Regions from separate parts of the Homo sapiens genome. Here region 1 is linked to region 2. The links are contacts of gene promoters, found by promoter capture Hi-C in human tissues and cell types (Jung and others, 2019). All regions are on one chromosome and are shown on one strand. The core of a region is centred on a gene start or on the middle of the fragment in contact, and the rest is flanking DNA. Distances in the headings are between cores, read along the strand shown. Region 1 has its middle 230 kb from the start of ZNF717. Region 2 holds the start of ZNF717 (zinc finger protein 717).

What was found. Contacts are between HindIII fragments. The study calls those that stand out against the background at their distance.
Region 1: a fragment that was not itself captured here is called in contact with the fragment with the promoter of ZNF717 in region 2 in 2 of the 25 tissues and cell types used here (H1 embryonic stem cells and spleen).

Annotation. Positions count from the first base shown.
Region 1 is chr3:76,008,025-76,013,598 of GRCh38, reverse strand. It overlaps a transcript of ROBO2 not described here. Among named protein-coding and RNA genes, the nearest start is that of ZNF717, 230 kb to the right of the region's middle. The HindIII fragment of the contact is 3,919 bases long and covers 1-3,266 here.
Region 2 is chr3:75,784,047-75,789,776 of GRCh38, reverse strand. ZNF717 (zinc finger protein 717) reads left to right here and starts at 4,228. Exons shown (of 5, transcript NM_001290208.3): 1 at 4,228-4,393. RefSeq lists an enhancer at 3,966-4,115. The HindIII fragment of the contact is 7,615 bases long and covers 2,570-5,730 here.

The sequences.
Region 1 (5,574 bases), core at 58-2,557, 230 kb before region 2:
TTACACGCACAAACCACCGTGCCCAGTCGCCAATTGCCTTTATACATATTACTTCTGGGATTACACGCATAAACCACAGTGCCCAGCCTCCAACTGCCTTTATGCATATTACTTCTGGGATTACATGCATAAGCCACAGTGCCCAGCCTCCAAATGCCTTTATACATATTACTTCTGGGATTACACACATAAGCCACCGTGCCCAGTCGTCAATTGCCTTTATATATACCACTTCTGGGATTACACGCATACACCACCGTGCCAGCCGCCAATTGCCTTTATACATATTACCTCTGGGATTACACGCATAAGCCACCGTGCCCAGCCTCCAATTGCCTTTATACATACTACTTCTGGGATTACACACATAAGCCACCGTACCAGTCACCAATTGCCTTTATACATATTACTTCTGGGATTACACGCATAAGCCACCGTGCCCAGCCTCCAATTGCCTTTATACATATTGCTTCTGGGATTACACGCATAAGCCACCGTGCCCAGCCTCCAATTGCCTTTATGCATATTGCTTCTGGGATTACACGCATAAGCCACCGTGCCCAGCCTCCAATTGCCTTTATGCATATTTTACTTCTGGGATTACATGCATAAGCCACCGTGCCCAGTTGCCAATTGCCTTTATACATATTACTTCTGGGATTACACGCGTAAGCCACCGTGCCAGTCACCAATTGCCTTTATACATATTACTTCTGGGATTACATGCATAAGCCACCGTGCCCAGTCGCCAATTGCCTTTATACATATTACTTCTGGGATTACATGCATACACCACCGTGCCCAGTCACCAATTGCCTTTATACATATTACCTCATTTAAATATGCATTTTTCCAATGGAAGGAACTGGAGCTTAGATAAATTATATACCTCTAAAAATAACACCACACGGATTTTTAAAAAAGTCTTTAAGCATTTATTTACCTACTTATTTATTTGGCTAACGGGAAAAAAAAAAGCTTCCAGTCACAAATATCCCCAGTCACAAACATCACGATCCATGATGATAGAGCAAAATCAAATATGCTAAAAATTAGCCAAATATATTGCATACAGTAGGTCATCAATACATGCTTATTGAATTAATTAAAATCCAACTTGAAAAGGAAATTGAACCTGTCAAATATTTGTATATTTTATCTCATCAAATTTAGTTGTGCGTGAGCCAAAGAAAACATATAAAAAGTGTTTTATTTTGTAGGGACAGATGTATAAAATACCAAATTTTAATATACTAAAGGCATAGTTACAGTTTTCCTTTAAATATCATTTTGATCTTAATGATATGGCTTACTATTTTACTCTCCAAAAATAGTATACTTTATAATTATAATTGCTGGAACATGCCACTTTCTAGAATTATGACAAATAATTCATTACATATAAAGGCTTTATTTTAGAATGAATATATGAATGTTGGCTGTCATCCTAATTTGTGCCTCCCAAAAGATTGGTTTCCTACCTCTACATAGAGATAAAATAAAATTTAATCTTTAAGAATTCACATTTCTTGTTTGGCAAGAGTTTGTATTGCTACTAATTAGCTAAATTAGAAATTAAAGAATCTTGGCTACATTGAACTGGGCTTTGAATCTGTCTAAAACTGTTTCCTCAGAAGAGAACTGGTGAGGTGATTGCATCGAGTCACTGGGCTATACTGCTGAAAGGGGGATGACTGGAAACAATATTGTATCCTTAAAATTTCCATTGAGGAGCACAATGTCTACATATACACATTTGATTGCATCGAGTCACTGGGTGATATTGCTGAAAGACAGATGACTGGAAACAATATTGTATCCTTAAAATTTCCATTGAGGAGCATAATGTCTACATATACACTATTATCAGTTTCCCTTCAGAATTTTCTCTATATTTGGTTTTAATTATCCCAAATTCATTTATCCCCAATATTTAAGTTCCCCCTCCCTCTTCCCCTATATTTCCCCTTGAACCTTTTATCTTTTCTGTGTCCATTGCAGAGAGATCACTTCCTTGTAACTGAATACAGATCTGAATGCTTACCACTTGCAGAGTCCAATTCACAAGAGCGAGGTCTCGTATAAAGAAAGTGATTTTACTAACCAAAACTAGTAAAGGGGATGTGGCCGGATTCCCATCTAAACCAACCACTTCAATTTTGGGGGTGAGGGCAGGGGTTTAAAAGTGGAAACATTGATAAGGAAGGCATGCAAGAATTGTGCTGAGTACAATGTCTGTGTGTCTTGCTCTGGTGGCTATTTTGGGTCTCAGTCCACCTGAATCACGGGCTGGCAGCATCTCAACAATGGCGGGGTTGTTAACTAGCCAGCCACCTTGAAGTGATCGCGGGAATTTTGCAGCTGAGTCTCCAAGCTTCCTTTGTCAGACTCAAGATTAGCCCCTGCAACTTCTAAGAAGGCACACAGATGATAGCATACAATTAGATAAATGTGAAGGGAGTATACATGGTAGGAAAGGGAGGGATATGGAGTCTATTTTATAGCTAACAGAAAAGGCTTCCGCAGTTTTCTTCAAGGTTATATCTTGAAACCCAAGGTTAAAAAACAATAAAATGCATTTTGAAGTTAAGCTATCTGGTTACTTAATGAGGATTATAGCTCTGGGGGTCTTCTCTTTTCTAAATATCCCCAAGCCCTAGGATGTATTTTGGGCAATATTTTGTACTAAATATGTGAGTTCTAAATGAGATATTTATTTACCTTGTACTTTATGTTGCAAATTTCCTAAAACTGTAATTTTAACAATCTACACGTTTATATTTATGTGATGGTTTTGTTAATTTCATTTCAACACTTTTCTCCAACAAGTGGATTTATACAAAACTGACAATGTGAAGCTTCTTCAGCGTCCCCCTTCAACATCTTAATAGGATAAAATTAATCATAATTTTAAACTACATTTCTTAATTTAAAGAAAAAAATTATGTGGACATATTCACATTCAAGGTGAGCATCCAGCAAACAGTAAATCAGGCAGGTGGTTATATTTAGAAATAGTAGCAAAACATTTACAATTGATGCCATATGGCTTTCAGCCTAGTAGGGCCAACTAGCTGTGTTCAATGACTCTGGGGAAATTAGGCTGTTTGAAGGTCATGAATGCTAACTCTAAACCTCTGGGACAGTGACAGGAAGTTGGCAGCAATATGCAGGGAAATCATACCTCCAGCTGAGTGGATAAGCCTCCTTCATAAGTGGACCGAGGATTGTTCATGTTGAGCCTGTGCTCTGATTTGCAGACAAAGAACCAGGTATAACCACTATTGCTGCATATACACAGCAGGCAGTAACGTATATTCTGGTCCCGTCATTGTCTTTCTTAAACTAGCCAGGAGTCCTTATCATAATTATAAAGTTCAAATCCCCTTCCATTATCTTCCTGTTTGAGCTTACCTGATACCACTGTCCTCTGGACTAAGCCCCAGGCACATTAAGTTTCGAAGTTGACATTTTTATTAAGTTTTAAAGACATACTTGGAGAATTTTTTAATGCACAAGTATCTACAGATGTCCAACTTAAATAATTCCACTTTCAATGTGCTTTCCAGGGTTTCTTGAATGCCATTGAGAAATTACAATACATATAAAGAAAATAGAAAAGAAATAGTAATCACTGAATCACTGATTAGAAAAAAAAATAGCAAAAGCTAAAGCTTTTCATCAATTAAGTTTACCAATTTTCAACAAATAACTCAAGTGAAAAAAATAATTTATCTAATTGAAAATGGCTAATGCAGAGTCAAAGATTAAAATGTTGGAAATAAATTTTCTTCTTACATGCCAACCTTTAAGGAAAATATTATTGAACTTTTCTGGAACACAAAATCTTTGCAACCAGCATTATTATGTATCTTATTCACTTACATTAAACTAAAACTATATATGCATGAGGGAATGTTTCTTCAAATATTAACCATAAATAGGAATTAGAAAAATGTATAAAATTAGGTTGTATATTTCATTCCTAAGATTTTCTAGACTGAGTTTTCTGAAAGACGCAACACTATTCTCTTGATATTCTACAAATAAAAACATGCTACCCCAGAGCATTGGGTTCAGAACATGCTACCCCAGAATATGGCACCTTGGCATTTGAGAAAATCACAGAGAACGAAGGGCTCTGATTTTCTCCAATCCTTCTTCTCTGAAGCAAGCTGTAAGAGAATCGGATCTTCAGCCAGGCGCGGTGGCTTACGCCTGTAATCCCAGCACTTTGGGAGGCGGAGGTGCGAGGATCACGAGGTCAGGAGATCGAGACCATCCTGGCTGACACGGTGAAACCCCGTCTCTACTAAAAATACGAAAAAATTATCCGGGCGTGGTAGCGGGCGCCTGTAGTCTCAGCTACTCGGGTGGCTGAGGCAGGAGAATGGCGGGAACCCGGGAGGCGGAGCTTGCAGTGAGCCGAGATCGCGCCCCTGCACTCCAGCCTGGGCGACAGAGCAAGACTCAGTCTCAAAAACAAAAAAAGAGAAAAGAATCTGATCTTCCTGTGAAGTATGTTATAAGAGCCTCATGTGCCTCATATCTGGAGAGAAGGAATGTCACACTGGGATGCAGAAAGTAATATGAACAAACAGGCCTTGCTAAGTTCCCCCAGCGTATTACCATTAGATCATACTCCCTCTGTTCAATCATACTTCCTCATGACTGTCTACTCCCCATCCAACCTAAGCATAAATATACATAGATTTCCCCGTTTCTTTGGGTCTTCATTTCTGAAGGTCCACATGTCATGTAAAATTTACATTAAACAAATACGTATGCTTTTCTCTTGTTAAACTGTCTTTTGTCATAGGTGCTTCAGCCATGAACCTAGTGATGGATGAGAAAAAAAAAAATCCCTTCTACCCTAAACTAACAAGGAAGGACAAGATAGAGGATTCTAACTTCTTACAATAGGTATTCAATGTGATGAGAGGGTGGTCATTTGATGTATAAAATTAGGAATTCATTCTAAAACGTTTGAGACTTTTGTGTTTAGGTTATTGCAGAGGAAGGGGCAAGTTTGGTGCTCCAAATTCCTGTTTTATTTGCCATCATAGAAAGGATTTGAATTTGCAAGATACTTCATAAAAGTCTGATTTTCTTTTTTTCATTTTAAATGTGGTATTGTAGTTACTGTAATGAGGTGGCATCGACACTGCTAATACTTACCCTTTGGAGTTTACCCCAAGGGTTTACCATAAGACATCATCCAGATCACTGTGCTTTCTTTTAAAAAAACAAGTCTTTATTAAAAAGAAAAGCACAAATTAGACCAGCACAAATAGAAATTACTAACAGCCAGAAATATATTTAGCAGCGATTTTTTTTTCTTTTCTTTTTTTTTTTTTTTTTTTTTTGACAGAGTCTTGCTCTGTCACTCAGTCTGGAGTGCAGTGGTGCGATCTCAGCTCACTGCAACCTCCACCTCCCAGGTTCGAGCAATTCTCCTACCTCAGCCTCCCAGAGTAGTTGTGACTAAAGGTATCCACTACCACACCCAGGTAATTTGTATATTTTTAGTAGAGTTGGGGTTTCACCATGTTGGCCAGGCTGGTCTTGAACTCC
Region 2 (5,730 bases), core at 2,979-5,478:
CTTTCCAATTTGGATCCCTTTTATTGTTTTTCTCTTGTCTGAATTGCTCTAGCTAGGACTTCCAGTACTGTGTGTTGGAAGTGGACATTCTTGTCTTGTTCCAGATCTTAGAAGAAAGGCTTTCAGCTTTTCCCTGTTCAGGATGATACTGGCTGTGGGTCTGTTGCATATGGTTTTTATTGTGTTGTGGTATGTTCCTTCTATATCTAGTTTTTTTTTGAGGGTTTCTTTTTATCACAGGGATGTTGGATTTTATTAAATGCTTTTCAGCATCAATTGAAATTATCATATGGTTTTTGTCCTTCATTCTGTTGATATGATGTGTCACATTGATTGATTTGCATATGTTGAACCATGTTGGCATCCTCGGGATAAATCCCACTTAGACATGATGAATGGTCTTTTTCATAGGATGAGTTTGGAAATACTACAGCCTTCTCTGTTTTTTGGAATAGTTTAAGTAGGATTGATAGTAATTCTGCCTTCAATGTTTGGTAAAATTAATCAGTGAAGCCAGTGAAGCCATTGGATCCAGGCTTTTCTTTACTAGGAGATGTTTTATTATGGCTTCAATTTCATTTATCCATTTCTTCTAGGTTTGTTGTTTGGTTGTTTTTTTGTTTTCTTTTTTTTGAGATGGAGTCTTGCTCTGTCACCCAGGCTGGAGCGTGGTACAATCTCAGGTCACTGCAACCTCTGCCTCCCAGGTTCAAGTGATTTTCCTGCCTCAGCCTCTGGAGTAGCTGGGAGTACAGGTGCATGACACCATGCCTGGCTAATTTTTGTATTTTTAGTAGAGATGGGGTTTCACCATGTTGGCCAGGCTGGTCTTGAACTCCTGACCTCAGGTGATCACCTTCCTTGGCCTCCCAAAGTGGTGGGATTACAGGCATGAGCCACGGTGCCTGGCCATTTCTTCCAGGTTTTTCAATTTATTGGAATATAGTCAGTCATAATAGTTTCTAATGATTCTTTGAATTTCCGCAGTATCAGTTGTAGTATCTCCTTTTTAATCTCTGGTTTTATGTATTTGAGTCTTCTCTCTTTTTTCTTAGTCTGGTTAAATGTTTGTTGATTTTGTTGGTCTTTTAAAAAATATTAACTTTTCATTTCATTGATATTTTATATTTTTAAATTTCAATTTCATTTATTTCTGCTCTGATCTTTGCTATGTTTCCTTCTACTAATTTTGGTTTTGGTTTGCTCTTGCTTTTCCAATTATTTAAGATGCATTATTAGGTTGTTTATTTGAAGCTTTTCTACTTTTTTTGATGCAGGTGCTTTTTGCTATAAATTTACCTCTTAGTACTGTAGTAGTGTTTTTACTGTATCCCATAGGTTTTTTTTTTTTTTTTTTGAGACGGAGTATCGCTCTGTTTCCCAGGCTGGAGTGCAGTGACGCGATCTCGGCTCACTGCAAGCTCCGCCTCCCGGGTTCACGCCATTCTCCCGCCTCAGCCTCCTGAGTAGCTGGGACCAAAGGCGCCCGCCATCACGCACGGTTAATTTTTGTTTTTTGTATTTTTAGTAGAGACGGGGTTTCACTCTGTTAGCCAGGATGGTCTCGATCTCCTGACCTCGCGATCCGCCCGCCTCAGCCTCCCAAAGTGCTGGGATTACAGGCATGAGCCACTGCGCCCGGCCTGTACCCCATAGGTTTTGGTTTGACTTTAAACTTTTTCTTTTCTCGAAAACTCAGTGTCGTGGTACCGGCTTCTAGTGCTTTGGGCAGTGAGACCCTTTTACTTGATAACAGTGGTAGCTGGGACAACTTGGCAACGTAAATAAATAAACGGCATCTAGATTGGAAAGGAAGAAGTACAGTTATCTTTATGTACAGATGACATGATCTTGCATTTAGAAAATCGTAAGAAATTTACTAAAAAGTATTAGGACTCATGAACAAATTTAAGAATGTAACACTATATAAGATTGATATACAAAAATAACTGTATTTCTTTACCAAGAAATCAAGAATCCAAAAATGGAATTACAAAAATAAATCTTGTTACAATAGAATTAAAGCTGGGGAAGCTTAAACTTGAACACTAAAAACTGCAATACATGGTTAGCGTCGGAGACACCCAGGTATCATCCCTGAGCCTTCTCTCCTTGGCTCTGAGGACTTCACCTTCACGTGGTGAGGAAAGGGGTTGCAGTCTTGGCTTTTACGTTATATTAGGTGGGTTCAGGTTGAGGTATCTGCAATTCAAATGAGTATTACAATCTCTACTTTTATGGATAAGAGACTGAGGCCCACCAAGAGAGGGAATGACAGTCCATATCCTGGAAGGCAAATTGTCAGGCACTGATTTCCGCTATGTAACCCCTGCCAATCATCGTGTATTTAAAGGATCCCCAGATACCATACCAATAGGTGTTCAAGAGAGAGGCCTGTAATCTAGGCGTCTGAGAAAGCAAGGCTAGAGATTCCGATATTGGAGACAACAGGGCTCTGGGAAGATTAAGGTTGAGTTTTCTGGATCTGCAGAATAGAGTCACTGAGGAGCAATTGCAAGATCCGAGGAGATGAAAGAACAAGTCAGGGCATGCTTAGGAAAAGAGAAAACCAGGGATAGGTTTTAGGCAAGAGTCACACTGAGGAAGGGCAGGTTCTTGGCGTCGCTCAGGAAGGAATCCAAAAGCAAGCCTGTGGTGGAAGAAAGCAGCTCTACGGAGGCACTGGCGGTGTTACAGCCCTGCGTCCACTCCTGCAGGGCAGGGAGCCCTCCGTGGGTTGTGCTCCCAGAGTAGCAGCCTGGGGGTGGCTTGCAGTCATTTTTATAATTCACTTTTAATGGCATGCTAATTAAGGGGCGGGTTATTCAGAAATAGCTAGAAATGGGCAGTAACTTCCAGCTGTTTCCATGGCAAGGGGTGGGGACTTCCCGTGCTGCCGTGGCATTGGCAAACTGTCACGGCACTGGTGGAAGCGTCTTCTGGTGATCTGAGGCGTGAGGTGCTTTCGCTGCCTCTCCCAGTCTCCTGCGTGCCTCTTACCTGAAAGCCCTTCACACCCTCATCTGCCCACCTACAAACTTCACTGCCCTTTCACCCCAACCCCGTTTCACACGCACTCCCACATCAACCCTGAGCATTCAAGCTTGCGTTTCCCTGTTAGGAACCTCGGTGGTGGCCGGAGCTCTGAGAAACCCCTAGGCAGAAATCCTTGCCTAGTTTGTGGCAGAAATCAGGGAAGGAAAGGCAAAGTTCAGGTCTTTCTCACAATAAATAAATAAAGATAGCTAGATTTGATTGATTGGTGGATGGATGAAACGTGGGAGTTTATGGGCAAATATTTATCAGACACTGGAAGTGTAAGTTGTCACAAAGATTATGGAGTGCACCTGTCTTATGACCCTGTTATTTTATCCCAGTATATGCACTAGAGCATTTTTTGTAACTGTGTAAATTGAAGGCTTATAAATTAGTTTAGTGAGAGAAAAGATAACGGATTGGAAGAGAATTACCATATTCATTAGTTGTGTTTTTAAAATTTTAAAGTAAAATAGAGACATGATTTTTTTCATGCTTTCGAATGCATTTATAAAAAATAGACTTGAGGGCTGGGCGCAGTGGCTCACGCCTGTAATCCCAGCACTTTGGGAGGCCGAGGAGGGCGGATCACGAGGTCAAGAGTTCGAGACCAGCCTGACCAACATGGTGAAACCCCGTCTCTACTAAAAATACAAAAATTAGGTGAGTGTGGTGGCGCGCACCTGTAATCCCAGCTACTCAGGAGGCTGAGGCAGGAGAATCGCTTGAACCCGGGAAGCGGAGGTTGCAGTGAGCCGAGATCGCACCATTGCTCTCCAGCCTGGGTGACAGAGTGAGACTCCGTCTCAAAAAAAAAAAAAAAAAAAAAGTTACTCATTAATAGCATAGACCAATTGGCCTCTATTGAAATTTCTCCATTATTTTCACAATGTGCCAGGCTGTGAAACCAGGATTTAATAAAGAACCAGAATGCCACATCTGTGTCACCTGGGTAGGGACCAGTCCTGATCCATTAAGTCCGGGTCTCTGGGTAACTGGACTCACTGCTGGGCAAAACAGAATGTCCGGCTTGGGTTCCTAACCGGGGACCGCAGAGCCTCATGGGAAATGTAGTGTCACCTTCCAATGATGTTACCATCAAGGACCTTGGGAACCAGCTTTTCTCTCTGCGCATGCGCCGCCCCGCCCACTCCGCCATTTTCCTCCGGAAGTGCGGCACCCAGAGGCGGTCTTGTAGCTGGGCCAGCCTGGGGCTTGGTTCTATGTCCCTGCGGGTCGGTGCGAGGGCGAAGAGGAACCCGTGGGCCCGGGGGATCCCGGGGGGCCGGACCAGTGTTCCCCAGTTGTGGGAGCAGACGCGTGGGCGCATCGCGGGCGGGCAGGGCCTGAAGTGCAGGTGCAGGCCGCGGACCCTGGCGGGGGCTGGGAGGACAGGCGTGGGGTCCCGGCAGTGAAGCGGGTTCTAGAGGCGCAGGAGCGGGTAGGCGAGGCCGGTGGCCCTGGGCCCGGAGTCTGCAGGCCGCGCTCCTGTCCTGCCGCTGAGGGAGCCGGTTACCAACCCGCATGACGCTCAGTTTGCCCATCTGTCCCAGTGCGAACACACAGTTCTCGGGAGACGTTCCCCATTCCCAGAGGAGTAGTGCGAAACGCGTGCGCCTCGAGTCTTAAACTGGGCGTTTGTATTAGTTGGGTTTCCCGGTGTCTCTTTAGCAAGTGAAGTTTCTGGTTCCCTCCTTCACTGTGTGACCTGCCTAGTCCTCCTGGGTTGCGTTTACAGAAGTTTATACGAGACCTAGTTTCCAGGGAAGAACTCACTGATGCCGCGAGGGAGATGGGGTACTGGATGATGGTCTTCAGCCTTAAGGGTACTTCAGTCTTAACCGTGTGTTATAAGGTTTGAAAGGGAGGGTTCCCTATGAATAAGAAGCGCACTTGAAAGAACAGCCCTCTGGTCTAACCTCCCACTGGTGCTTCAGAGGAGGATAAAAGGTCACAGGTGAAGATCCCAGTTTTCCTCGCTCGGGAAATATTAATTCTACTCCCTAGAATGCACAAGATTTGCAAAGACTAGGTGACAGTGGTAGGTTTGGACGAACTTTCAGAAGGTTGAGGTGAATTCGGCTGAGAAGAACAGGCAAGGACCTAGGAAATATTCCTTATTTGAAGGGGCCTGAAAGTGTGGTCTGGGGTACAGGAGTGACCTGTCATACCTGAGAAGATTAAAATACTCTCCAAACACAGTCCCATTCCTTCAACCTTTCCTCGTTGTTTCCAGCGTTTGAGATATATTAAACCTAGTCCATCACCAAATTTAGCTTTAGCATTAGATTGTGAAGTTCTATCGATTGTATTTGATTTGTAATTTAAGACTTTCTCCCCCTACGTAATTTTGTTAAAAACATATTGAATTCTGTTCACTTAGGTGTAACAGTTAATACTTGCTGTTTAAGGAACTAATTAAACCTTACTGGCTTATAAAAAACAACCACCATTTTATTTGTTTGAAGTTCTGTGGATCTGCATTTTGGTGTGGTGGGTTCAGCTGGGTAGTTGATATATTTATGTTGCCTGGATCACAAAAGAGGCCTTGGTCACATGGTGGGTTGACTGAGCCTGGTTGGTTTAAGATAGTTTCCTTCACAATCTGGCGGTTTGTGGTGACTCTTGGCTAGGCCCTGTGTCTCCACCAGGGTAGCTCCAGACCTCCTCACAATATGACTGTGTCCAAAAAGG